Linked DNA regions of Homo sapiens: all the other regions are linked to region 3. The links are contacts of gene promoters, found by promoter capture Hi-C in blood cells and fetal thymus (Javierre and others, 2016). All regions are on one chromosome and are shown on one strand. The core of a region is centred on a gene start or on the middle of the fragment in contact, and the rest is flanking DNA. Distances in the headings are between cores, read along the strand shown.

Evidence for each region. Contacts are between HindIII fragments. The CHiCAGO score rates a contact against its expected background, and 5 or more counts as called.
Region 1: a contact is called between a fragment that was not itself captured here and the fragment with the promoter of DNTTIP2 in region 3, in 5 of 17 cell types (M2 macrophages, M1 macrophages, M0 macrophages and 2 more). The highest score is 12.6, in M2 macrophages.
Region 2: a contact is called between the fragment with the promoter of FNBP1L here and the fragment with the promoter of DNTTIP2 in region 3, in 15 of 17 cell types (M2 macrophages, M0 macrophages, monocytes and 12 more). The highest score is 34.9, in M2 macrophages.
Region 4: a fragment that was not itself captured here is called in contact with the fragment with the promoter of DNTTIP2 in region 3 in 1 of 17 cell types (M1 macrophages); the score reaches 8.7 in M1 macrophages.

Annotation. Positions count from the first base shown.
Region 1 is chr1:93,428,231-93,431,354 of GRCh38, reverse strand. No RefSeq gene overlaps it. Among named protein-coding and RNA genes, the nearest start is that of FNBP1L, 18 kb to the left of the region's middle. The HindIII fragment of the contact is 889 bases long and covers 1,370-2,258 here.
Region 2 is chr1:93,446,500-93,449,758 of GRCh38, reverse strand. It overlaps FNBP1L (formin binding protein 1 like), which reads right to left and starts at 1,641. Exons shown (of 17, transcript NM_001164473.3): 1 at 1,454-1,641. The coding sequence starts at 1,477. RefSeq lists silencers at 1,484-1,533, 2,473-2,767 and an enhancer at 1,014-1,992. The HindIII fragment of the contact is 14,675 bases long and covers 1-3,259 here.
Region 3 is chr1:93,877,345-93,880,759 of GRCh38, reverse strand. DNTTIP2 (deoxynucleotidyltransferase terminal interacting protein 2) reads left to right here and starts at 1,554. Exons shown (of 7, transcript NM_014597.5): 1 at 1,554-1,683; 2 at 2,898-3,415. The coding sequence starts at 1,612. RefSeq lists enhancers at 732-1,547, 1,399-1,828. The HindIII fragment of the contact is 5,310 bases long and covers 1-2,045 here.
Region 4 is chr1:93,408,791-93,412,071 of GRCh38, reverse strand. No RefSeq gene overlaps it. Among named protein-coding and RNA genes, the nearest start is that of FNBP1L, 38 kb to the left of the region's middle. The HindIII fragment of the contact is 171 bases long and covers 1,683-1,853 here.

The DNA of each region.
Region 1 (3,124 bases), core at 565-3,064, 450 kb after region 3:
CGAAAATCACTTGAACCCAAGAGGTGAAGTTGGCAGAGCCAAGATCATGCCAATGCACTCCAGCCTGGGTGACAGAGCAAGACACTGTCTCAAAAAATTTTTTTCAATGTTATTATAAATGGTATAGGTTGTAGAATTTTGATTCCTGACTGTGGTTAATATTTTTATGTATTTTGTACATTATATATACTTCAATGATGACTCACTTCTTAGTTATATAGTTATATTATCTTTCTTGAGGGGTTCCTTAAGATTTTCTACCTAGATGATTTTGTTGTTCCAAATAAAATTTTCCTTCTTCTTCTATAATTTATATACTGTTACTTCTTTTTATTTTCTTAATAAAATGTTGAATAGAAGAGGTGAGCATGGAGGACCCATCCAGTGGCTCATGCCTATAAACCCCAACACTCTGGGAGACCAAGGCAAGAGGATTACTTGAGCCCAGGAGTTTGAGACAAGCCTGGGTAACGTGGTGAAACCCTGTCTCTACCAAAAATACAAAAAAAAAAAAATTAGCTAGGCATGCTGGTGCACAGCTGTATTCCCAGCTACTTGGGAGGATGAGATAGGAGAATTAATTGAGCCCAGGAGGTCAAGGCTGCAGTGAGCCATAATAGCGCCACTGCATTCCAGTGTGGGTGATAAAGCGAGAACCTGTCAAAGAAAAAGAGGTGAGCATGGACATTTCTTTCTTTCTTTGGAATCTTAGACAGAAAGCATTCAGTTGTTCATGATAAACCATGACGGTAGCTGTAAATTTTTTATATATGGACTTTGTCAGGTAAAAGAAATTCCCTTCTATTCCTACACTGATGAAAGTTTTCGTTAGGAATGAATGTAAGACCTTGTCAAATGTTTTTCTTTCAGCTATTGAGAAGAATTTGTGTGTGTGTGTGTGTGTGTGTGTGTGTGTGTGTGTGTGTGTGTGTGTAGATTAAATTACATTGGTTAATTTTCTAATTTTTTTCACCAGTCTTGCATTTGTGGGATAAACTAGTTTGGTCAGAATATATTAACCATTGTATTCATTACGGGATTTATTTTGCTAACATTTTGTTGAGGAATTTTATTTCAATGTTCATGAAGAACAGTGGCATACAGTTTCATTATCTTCTGTGTTTTTGTTTGGTTTTGGTACCGGGTGAATGCTAGTCTCATATAATGAATTAGGGGAAGTTTCTTCTTCTTCAATTTTCTGAAAGAATTTTTGTAGAACTGTTATTATTTTGCTTTTACATTTTGGTAGACTTCAACAGTGAAGCCATCTGGGCCTGGAGTTTTCTTAATGGGAAAATTTTTAATTAAAAATTTGATTTCTTTAATAAAAATAAAACTTTGCATATTACTATTTCTTCTTGAGTAAGCTTTGGTAGCTTGCCTATTTCATTTAAGTTGTTGAATATATTAGTAAAAAGTTATAATAGTCCCTTATTATCCTCTTAATGTTTATAGAACCTATAATTATGTCACCCTTTCCTTCTCAATATTAGTGATGTGTATCTTCTTTTGTCTCCTATCAGTCAGGCTACAGGTTTATCAATTTTATTGATCTTCTCAATCTGTTTTTGGCTTTATTGATTTTCTCTATTCTTCTTGCTTATTTGTTTTCCATTTCTCTGATTTCTGCTCTTATATTTATTACTTTCTTTGGCTGATTTGGATTTGAATTGTTCTTCTTTTTACAGTTTCCTAAGGTCACTAATTTGAAACAATTTTTAAAATATATATGCCCTTAATGCTATATATTTCCTCCTAAGCACTGCTTTAGCATCATCTCACAAATTTTTCTTTTTACTCAATTCAAATAATTTCTAACATTCTTTTGCTTGCCTTTTTGATACTTGAGTTATTTAGAAGTGTGTTATTTATGTTTAATATCCACCTATTTGGGGATTTTTCAGATATCTTTCTGTTGTTGAGTTCCATTTAATTTTCTTGTTGTCATATTTTGTATATTTGAATTATTTTCAACTTACTGAGACTCGGTTTTTGATCAGAATATGACTTATCTTGGTAAATGTTTTGTGGATATTAGAAAAGAACATGTATTTTGTTGCTGTTGGGTGAAGTATTTGATAAATTTCAATTAGGTCAAGTTGGTTTATGGTGTTTGAATCTTCAATATCTTTACAGATTTTCTGTTTATCTCTTCTATTAAATTCTAATGAGAAAGATGCCAAAGTATCTTACTATAATTGTGAACTTATATATTTTTCCTTGCAGTTCCATCAGTTTTATTTTGTGTATGTGAAGCTTAATTATCAGGTGCATAAACATTGAGAATTGCTAAGTTCTCTTGACCAATTGACTCCTTTGTTTTATCTCATTTTCTTTTCTTTTTTTTTTTTTTTTTGAGATAGGGTCTCACTCTGTCATCTAGGCTAAAGTATAGTGGCATAATCATGGCTCAAGGTAGCCTCAATTTTTCCCGGGCTCAAGTGATCTCCCACCTTAGCCTCCTGAGTAGCTGGGACTACAGGCACTCGCCACCACACCAAGCTAATTTTTTAACTTTTTTTTCACTATGTTGCCCAGGCTGGTCTCAAACTCCTGGGCTCAAGTGATCCTCTTGCTTCAGCATCTGGAGTAGCTAGGGTTACAGGCACACATCACTGTACCTGGATTTAGGATGATTCTTTTTAACACTGGCAATATTCTTTGCTCAGAAATCTACTCTGTCTGAAATTAATATTGTCATCCTAGTATTCTTTTGATTAGTGTTAGCATGAGATTTTTTTCCATCTTTTAATTTTTAGGTTATTTGTTACTTTGTTTTTCAAATGGGTTTCTTATAGGCAGCATATAGTTGGGTCTTGCTTTTCTACCCAACTTGACAATCTCTGCCTTTAAATTGGGGTGTTTAAGATGTTTACACTTAACATAATTAAGGATATGGTAGGGTTTAAGTCTACCATCTTACTTTTTGTTTTCTGTTTGTCCTATTTGTTTTCTGTTCCCCCTTTTTCTTGTTAACTTCTCTTGGATTGAGTATTTTTTATTATTCCATTTTATCTCCAGTTGGCCTATTAGCTACAACTCTTTGTTTTGTATTTTAGTGGTTACTTTAGGGTTTCTAATATACATTTTTTAAACTTTATTTTTAAAATGACTGTTTTCCTTT
Region 2 (3,259 bases), core at 392-2,891, 430 kb after region 3:
AATTCATTTACCATGCAATCCTCCCCAATATAAGAACAATTAATGCTATCTAAGAAACGGAATGAAGGGGCTCCTAAGGTATTTTCTCTTGGGTGGTGTGTTTTCAGACTGGGTAAGCACTTGTACAGAATGTTGCACAAGAGATTCCTGGCTGGCTAAGTAAAGCATTCACTAGATGGACTCTAAAGTCTCACAGTTCTAAGATTCCCAATCTATGAGTAGACGTGAAAAATAAGAAAACATTTTGCCTTTCAATTAACCCATTGGCTTTCACTCCCACCCTAGCTGGGCACACACATACTCAAAAGTTATTTCTCCCCTTTCTCTGCAGTGATTTCACGAGATCCTCGCGAACAAAAGGCACGGAAAACAGGCACAGGTGGAATAAAAAGGGGAGTGGCTGAGGCCAGGCGGCTCTCGGGACAGCGCCCCCACGCCCCCAGTTCTCCCGGCCGCACCTGAGAAATCACTGCCCTCCGCACCTGAGAAATCACTGCCCTCCACACCTCGACCCTTCCGCGCCGGCGCCAGGAGCAAATTCTCCGACCTATTACCCTCCGCCCGTACCTTGGCCAGACACTGGGCATTGTCTGGAGCCTCCTGTGCCAAAGAAAGGCAAGGAGGAAAGGAAAGGAGAGAACGAAGGAGAAAGAACAAGTGAGAATAAAGAACGGAAAGGGAAGTAAAGCAACAGGGAGACCGTACGCTCCTTTTGGTAAAATTAGCTTCCTCATCGATCACTCGATTTAATTCAGCCCCCAAAACCAACCCACCAGCCCAAAGGCTGCAGCCGGGGGTGGCCAAACCGGAGTCCCTCGAAGCTGTGCCCGCCCGAAGCACTGAGGCAGGGAGAGAGAAATGTGCGTGTGGGCTGGGCCTGGCTGGCCCGAGGCCGGGCTCCGAACAAAGCCGCCTGGGTCCCCATACCTGGGGCGAGGGCTCTGGGCGGCGCCGCCCCAGACGGGCGACGCCCTAGCCCCGCGGACCTGGCCCGGGCGAGGAATCGCGGCCGGTCCCCTCCCCGCCCTCGAACAGCGCCCCTTGGGGACAATGGGCCCCCTCCCCCGCCTCCGGGAGGAGAGATACAAAGGAAGAGAGGAGCCGCCGGGCGCGAAGCCAGGCGTCGGGAAAAGTGAAGGTGGAGGAGGGAGAAGGAACAAGAGGGGATCACGGCGCACGCAGGAGCCCGCGGGCTGCTCCCCCGGCCGTCCCGGGCGCCGCCCGAGCTGCACCACGGCGGCAAAGGCGGGAGCACGGACTAGCGGCCCCCTAGACCCCCGGCCGAGAAGGGAAGAGGAGTCTGCACACAAAGACGAGCGGGACCCTCACCCTCCGCCAGCGCCGGACCGAGGACGGCGGAGCGCGCTTTCACCGCCGAGGGTCCGCGGCGCCCGCCCAACCCGCGCTTCTCAGGGGCCGGGGTCCGTGCGGGGCGCCCCTCTCCCCGACTCACCCACAGCTCCGTGCCCCAGCTCATGGCGGAACTTTCTGGCCGTCTGGCGGTGCCGCTGTCCTTCAGTCTGTCGGCTCCACAGTCTGTCCGACCTCTCACTCGCTGGCCGGCGGGCTAGCAGCTCAGCGGGTCTACCTCGAAAGGTGCCGCCACCGCCGGGCTCCCCAGTGAGTGAGAAAGACGCGACTGGAGAAGCCTCCGCCGCCGACGCGTCCCCGCCTCCCCGCGCTGGGCGGGAGGGGGCCGGGGCCGAGGGGAGGCGGAACGCGGCGCGGGGAGGGGGCGGGGCGCAGTGCATCCTGGGATCGGGGAGGACCTGGGCTAGCCTGGCCACCGCCGGCGGGGTCCCCAAGCGGGCACCTGGTCACCCTCGCTGGCCCCTCTCGCTGGTCGAGTCTCCTCCTGCAGGTACCCCGGAGCTTGGACTGCCCCCACTCCGCTGCCAGTCGGACCCCTGTTTCCAAGATAGAAAGGGAGAGAAGGGAAAAGACCCCCACCGCCGCTATTATCTCATTCCTCCTCTGCGCTGAGCCCCTTTACATGAGGCAATTTTAGTTACCTGCCTTTCCTGCCTCTTGTCTCCTCCACTCGGGAGAAACCTTGACAGGGAAGCGTCATCCAAATCCTAGAGTTTAGACTGAGGAGAGTTGTGTTTTATTTTTTTAAATCTTGATGCTTAAGGTGATCTCTCCTTTCAAGCCTGATGCTTTGGCATGACGATTCTTGGGAACCACCAAAATGTGCACAGGTTGAACAGCAAATGTGAAGGCAACATGTCCCCGATTCTGTCTTTAATTAAATATTTTAATTTTATAAATTCTGTCAGGAAATTATAAAAAGAGGCAGCTCTTCCAGTAATCATTTAGGTATGTTGCCAGCGCACGAGATGGAAGACGTGGACAAATGTGAGCCGAGCTGTCACCTGCGGAAGATGAGAAGGCAGCTTGCCCCATGTCTGGAATGGGCACCTCGTGGGTGAGGGTTGGATGGGAGCCAGATTTTTCTCTGGTAGTGTAAACAGCTTATTCGGAACTTCAGATCTCTTTCACCTCCCAGTATCGGAACCTTGGAGGCAGGTCCACTACTTCCTTTTTTCTCTATGGAGCTACTTCCTGGCCTATCTCCATGGAAAGGCTGTTAGCTAGTTTGGCTGGTGCTACTAGATATCAAGTACGCTGAGCAACTCCCTAACATATGCTTTAGTATTAATAGCTTGTCTCCTAAAGCAAGCAAGCGCACACACACACACTTCAAAACAGTCAACTAGTAGAGTACTCCTCAGTGCGTCATGACAGCTGGGTGTTTTAGGAAGCTCTCCCAACGGGTTCTTTGTCAGCATTGAAACTCCTCCCCTACCTGGCCTGGACAGGTGTTCCAACCTCTTCCGCTTAATCCGTATTCTTTTGCCTAGCTGCGCTCCCTCTTGGAGTTGAGGCCAACAGCCTGAGTTCGCCTGACAGTCCAGTTGCTAATCTTCCTAAATTCTCTGCTGTCCTTTTCTGAGGCCACTTTAAGCATACAAATGCCCTCTTCCAAGTGGGTTATAGCCAATTTTTAAATGCTTAACTTTGTACCATGCAGTGAAAAGCCTGTGAAGGATTGAACAACACTTTCTAACATTTTTCTACATTGCCTCTATTCCAAAATAATTTCTTCGTTTATTTATGTCACCTAACACTGTTAACCGCCTCTCCCATCACTTCCTATCACTCCCTAGAATCATGAATGTATTTTGCAATTGCAAGTAACATTAATTAGTAAGGGGAAATGGATTTTTTTTTTTTTGAGACGGCGTTTCACTCTTGT
Region 3 (3,415 bases), core at 305-2,804:
TTCAGTTAGCATTAGGCTCGGCTGCAAATAGAAAAATCCTTAATTAACAGTGGCTTTTAACAAGGTGTTTCCATCAGGTGAAAAATCTAGAAGGCGGCTCTTGAGGGCTCATAGGGCAGCTCCACAAGTTGATTTTTCCATCTCACTGCTATGCCATCTCTAAAGCATGCCTTCATCCTTATGGCACAAACTTGCCGCCTGAAAACCAGCGAACCCAACTTTCCAGGAAGTAAAATGCACTTTAAAAGATCAGGAGGGCTGGGCGAGGTCGTTTAGGCCTATAATCCCAGCACTGTAATCCCAGCACTTTGAGAGGCCGAGGCGGGTGAATCACCTGAAGGCAGGAGTTCAAGACCAGCCTGCCCAACATGGTGAAACCCCGTCTCTACTAAAAATACAAAAAAAAAATTAGCCAGGAATGGTGGCGGGCGCCTGTAATCTCAGCTACTCAGGAGGCTGAAGCAGGAGAATCGCTTGAACCCGGGAGGCGGAGGTTGCAGTGACCCAAGATTGCGCCATTGCACTCCACCCTGGGCGACAGAGCAAGACTCCGTCTCCAAAAAAAAAAGTCAGGGACGGCCTCCTCTCTTTTAGATGCCGTCCCTAAAGACATGCACACAATTTATACCTAATTGGCTAAAACGTAGTCACATAGCCACATTTGGCTGCAAGAGAGACTATAAAATAAGCTATTTTAAGCTGGGAAGCAGTGTGTCCATCGACACAGTGTTCTGTGACTTTAAATAAAAAATTGGTTTTCTGTCATGAAGTAGAGACTAGGTTTGGTGAGGCACTCATTCATCCTTTCTCACCTCCAACAATAATTTGCGTTTACTTATTTTTTCAACCCCTTCCCATCCCCTCAAACATAGTTCTCTACCTTTTATCTCAAAAGATAACCAAAGAAACCTCTTGATTCTGGTCATACTCTTCCTTTCACTGTGACAATAACAACAACAACAACAACAACAAAACCTTATTCTTCTCCTTTACAATTTCTTTAACGTTTTTTTCTTTTCTGCTATTCCCAATCCCTAAACACCATCTCACGTTTAGATTATACAGCTTTCCACTTCGTCTCCCAGTTCCTGCGAGCACCTTATATCCCTTTTACCCCAACCAAGTCCTTAAATTTTATTTATAGTTAGCGTCACAATACACGAGTAAATATTGTCTTTCTTTAAAAAGCACAAATATCTCAAACTTCTCCCTTGGACATACCAATGGCTACATTAAGCTCTTTAGAACGTAGAAATGAAAGAACGCCTCCCGGGTTCAAACGATTCTACTAAACAAATGAAAGAACGAATGGCATGTAAGTGCGTTTTTACAATTCATGTGAACGGGTACGCTAAGACCCTCTGTCACTGCGGGCTTCGCCGCCCCGATGAAGGTCTTTCCCAGCAAAAATCTGGCTTGCCTTCTACAGCTCTGAAATGCACACTTAAACCCAGGCCCTTTGTCTCTGACCGCCCTGGCCTGAACTGGCTGGGCGGAGATTCTCGCGAATTCTCGGATCTGCGCGGAAAACGCGCTCGAGGCAGTTCTCTGACGCATTTCCGGAGCGCCAGGGAAGAGGGAAGTCGTGGTGGTCGCGAGGGAGCCGGAAAGATGGTGGTTACCAGATCTGCACGGGCTAAGGCCAGCATCCAAGCCGCGTCGGCTGAAAGTTCCGGGCAAAAGGTAGGAAATCCAGTCTTCCCTACTTCTCGCCGCTTCGCAGAGCCGCGCTCAGGCAGGCGGGGCGGCGCAAGGGTCCGGTTAAGGGTGAGGACCTGCCGACAGAGAGGACCCGAGCTTGCCGCGCGCTTGGGTCTCCCAGGCCCCGTGCTAAGCCTGTCACGGAAACTGTTTAGCCTTCACCACTGTCTCTTAAGGCAATTTTTAGTATGGAAGAGAGGTTAGATAACTTTATTTGGGTCGTTCAACTCCTTAATGCAGAAGCACAGTTCGAACTTTTAAACCTTACTGTTAACACGGTACCAAGGAGGGTTAATTTCGGCCACCATGCACAAGCCCCATTTAGGGGGGCTGGAAAAAAAGCTTCGTTTTCACGTGGGGAGGCTGGCAGCTGTCCAGCATCACCTCCTTAAGGCGTGAGGAGGGCTGTGGTGTCGTCGCCTGGTGACTCTTAGTGGCGTTAGTCGGCTGTCTCATTCTGACTCAGCGATGCAGGGAACGGAGCGGCGGCGATTTTTTCCTGTACGTAAAGGTAAGGGCGGCGACTGATTCCATCAGTGTGTTCCTAAACACATCGGTGTTCAGAGTTAATATTCCCTTTCTCCCCTCTTCTATAGGTGGGTCAGAATGTTGGTCTACCCATTATATTTGACTTTAAACAGAAAAATTTTAATCGTTCTGCTTCTGAAGTTACATCTAGGAAGGATGAGGCTAGTGAAGTAAATGCAGGGTTGGCTCCAGTGTTTAAATTTTGATTTTTTTGTTTGTTTGTTTTTGATTCGGAGTCTTGCTCTGTCGCCCAGGCTAGAGTGCAGTGGCGCAGCCTCGGCTCACTGCAACTTCTGCCTCCCGGATTCCAACAATTCTTCTGCCTCAGGCTCCTGAGTAGTTGGGATTACAGGTGCGCACCAACACGCCCCGCTAATTTTTTTACTTTGAGTAGAGATGGGGTTTCACTATGTTGGCCAAGCTGTCTCGAACTCCTGACCTCGTGATCCACCTGCCTCGGCCTCCCAGAGTGCTGGGATTACAGCCGTAAGCCACCGCGCCCGGCCAAATTTTGATTTTTTAAAAATCATGAGTTGGGCAGGTTTTTTTGTTTTTTGTTTTAAAGGTAATCTTGTTTACTGGGTTTTAGCTTTTGGGGTCAGTATTTCATTTGCTTTGCCCTTGTTCCAGCCCTACCTAAATTACAGTGTGTTTTCTCTGGTTTGCAGAGTTTTGCTGCTAATGGGATTCAAGCGCATCCAGAAAGTAGTACTGGATCTGATGCCCGAACTACTGCTGAATCACAGACCACTGGGAAGCAAAGTTTAATCCCTAGAACTCCTAAAGCTAGAAAGAGGAAGAGCAGAACTACAGGCTCACTACCAAAGGGGACTGAACCATCTACGGATGGAGAAACCTCTGAGGCAGAGTCAAATTATTCTGTGTCTGAGCACCATGATACCATTTTAAGGGTAACTAGGAGAAGGCAGATCTTAATTGCATGCTCCCCAGTGTCCAGTGTTAGGAAAAAGCCGAAAGTAACTCCAACAAAGGAGTCTTACACTGAAGAAATAGTGTCTGAAGCAGAATCTCATGTTTCAGGTATTTCTAGAATTGTGCTTCCTACAGAAAAAACTACAGGAGCCAGAAGAAGTAAGGCTAAATCTCTGACAGATCCAAGCCAAGAATCTCATACAGAAGCTATATCTGATGCTGAGACATCAAGCTCAGACATTTCATTCTCTGG
Region 4 (3,281 bases), core at 519-3,018, 470 kb after region 3:
GGGGTATAATTGCCTTGCTGACACTATATAAGCACACTTGCACCCAGAGAAAAAGAGAGACAGTCACAGCTGTCTGGAGGGACAGGGGGGAGCCAGGACACAGCTTGGACAACTCATGCACAGAGAGAGAAAGAGTTAAGCTGCTGACCCTGACAGGAGAGCTGGCCACGCAGCTGTGTGCGGGAGCCACTGGACTAAGCAGCCAAGATGAGGCGAACAGTGTGAGAGAGCTAGTGTAAGTAAGCTGCTGAATAAAACTACATTGTACCTGCCTACGGCCCCCTGAATAGTCTTTCAACTATCTCCTCATCCACCCACTCCCCTCGGACCTCAGTATGGGCTGAAACCTGGCCCTGGGCATGACAATTGGCATAGTCATGGACCTGACACCTACCACCCTTGAGAAATGTCTTTGTAGTGTGGTGCACTGTGGAAGTATCATGCAGCCTGGTCTTAGAATGTTTCCCTCTTTCTTGAACCTTGAATCCAAGGTTCAATGTAAAAATGGGGTCCTTGATTTTTAAAGATCTAGATGCACTGCCTTCCAGTTGTGCCTGCTTTCACATACTTAAGTATTAATACTTAAATATGTGAAGAATAAACTGCAAGTGCTTTCTTTGCTCTATTCATTAAAAGTCTGCACCCTAAAGTCAGTAATCTAATTAAGAAACAAGGTAAAGTGAAAATACCTATGTAACTGTCTCCAAAATAAGACTTTCTGGCATTTAGCTGGCTATTTTCAAACACTTTGTAAAAGAAATTTACATCTATACAAGAAATCTCCATTTGTAAGGGCATCTCCCTCACTGCTCTTAAACCACTAGAAATTTTTACAATGGGGAAGGCTTGGCTTAGAGTTTACCTAACAAACCTTATCTTGTTTAAGACACTTTTCCTGGCAACCTTGTCTTGACTGGGCCTTTACCTATGCCCTTCTTTGTCTCATGAAATAATGGTGTTTAGACCTAAATACTGTGCCTTTGGGATGTAAATTTTCACCTAAGAGTCATGTCCTTTGTAAGTGCAAATTTAAAGTTACCCAGTTAACAATTGTTGACGATTCGATAGTCTAAAGTGGGGAAGGGAAATTATTTGAATTGGCAAATGAAAAACCTAATAAAGTTATAAAATCTGCTTCTGTCTGTGTATGGTCTGTGTATATTCTGTCTGTATATTTTTATGCTTATACATGTCATGAGTACATGAAATTTTACTATCAAAATATATGAAAGGGCTCTAATTGGCTTAAAGTAAAAGTAAGAACTTACATATTTTATCAGAAAAATAGACACAAACTCAAATGCCTTTGAGTTCACACAACTTAGGAAATCTTTAGTAAATAAGACTAGTTTAATATTGCTATTTTAATAAAAACAGAAGTGTCTTCTAAACAGCAGAATACCCATGTGTTTAACTTTAGGGTTCTTGCTTAGGTAGTGGCTAACATACTAGGTAGCCTAACATTCACAGGATGTAAAAACAATTAACAAACAAATAACTTGAGTTCATGGCTAGCTTTGTTTAAGAAACTGTTCAAGCATAATTGATAAGAATGAATAAATATCTCATCTGAAGGAAAAAATAAATGAAAATAAAATAAAAAAGAATGAATAAATAAAATAAAAATGCAATAAAAGTTTATAAATGAAATTTTCATAGTTTTAAAATCTTTTTCAGAAGCTTAAAGTCATGTCATGTTACATTAAGTATTAGATAATCATAAAATGTGTGAGTCATTTATAATAGCATAGAAAGGCTAAATATACTTCAATCTGTTAATAAACAAAAAAATGATGAGTATCTTTCTAAAAACTATGAAATGGGCTTCACCTACAAATACTGGTATGTAAGCTTAAAATTACTAACTTCCTAGGCTTTCTTTAGATATTAGGGTTGCTAAGAGTTGAAATTGTAGTTTATATATATATATAACTAAAACTATAAGATATAAAAAAAAATTCTATATACAGAGTACACAAAGAAAGTAAGATGTGGGCCAGGCATTGCGGCTCACATCTGTAATCTTAGCACTGTGGGAGGCTGAGACAGAATTGCTTGAGCCCAGGAGTTTGAGACAACATAGGTAACATAGTGAGACCCCCATCTCTATAATATGTTTTTAGTAGCCAGGCATGGTGATGCACATCTGTAGTCCCAGCTACTCAGGAGGCTGATGCAGCAGTATTGCTTGAGCCCATGAGGTCGAGGCTATAATGAGCCATGATTGTGCCACTGCATTACAGAATGGGTGACGAAGCAAGAGACCCTGTCTAAAAAAAAAAAAAAAAAAGTAAGAAAGATGTATTTTTGGTAAAGAAAGTTGAAAAGAGTAATTTTTTCTTTTGCATGAGGGAGAACTTGGTGTAGTCAAAATAGTAAGAAGGAAGCAAAAGTAAATTTTTGTCCTAAGGTAGAATACCAGTATAAAAAGGCAATATAGGACAAAACTGAAGGTTTAAGTAAGCCGTAGAAGGTTTGTGGAAGATTAATCTTGGGAAAGGAATTTTATGTGTGATCAAGTTGGCTAAAATTAGAAGGGAATTATTTATAAGTTTTTCTAAAGTTTGAAGATTAATATCAAAAGCATGCTGATGTATCTGGGCATGGTGGCTCATGCCTGTAATCCCAGCACTTTGGGAAGCTGAGGTGGGTAGATCACTTGAGGCCAGGATCTTGAGAAGAGAGGCCTTCTACCAAATGTACAGTTATTACAGGCACAGTCTAATGGTGAATCCTTGAGTTGGCTTCTTAGCATTGAGATGCCTTTAAAAATCTAATCCAAGAGTCCTTACAAGACCAGCCTGGCCACTGTGGTGAAACCCTGTCTCTACAAAAAAATATCAAAAAATAAAATAAAATAAAATTAGTCAGGTGTGGTGGCATGCACCTGTAGTTCCAGCTACTGGGAAGGTAAAATCACAAGCAAGTTAGTTACTTCCAAGATACAATGTGGATACGGGCATTGGGTAAATGTTCCCATTCCAAATAAGAGAAATTGGCCAAAACAAAGGGGCTACACGCTCCATGCAAGTTCAAAACCCAACAGGGCAGCAATTAAATCTTAAAGCTCCAAAATAATCTCCTATGACTCCATGTCTCACATCCAGGGCACATTGACACAGGAGGTGTTCTCCCAAGGCCTTGGGCAGCTCTGCCTCTGTGGCTCTGCAGGGTACAGCCCCTGTGACTGCTTTCACATGTTGGTGTTGAGTGCCTGGGGCTTTTCCAGGCACACAGTGCAAGTTGTAGGTGGATCTGCCATTCTGGGGTTCTGGAGGATG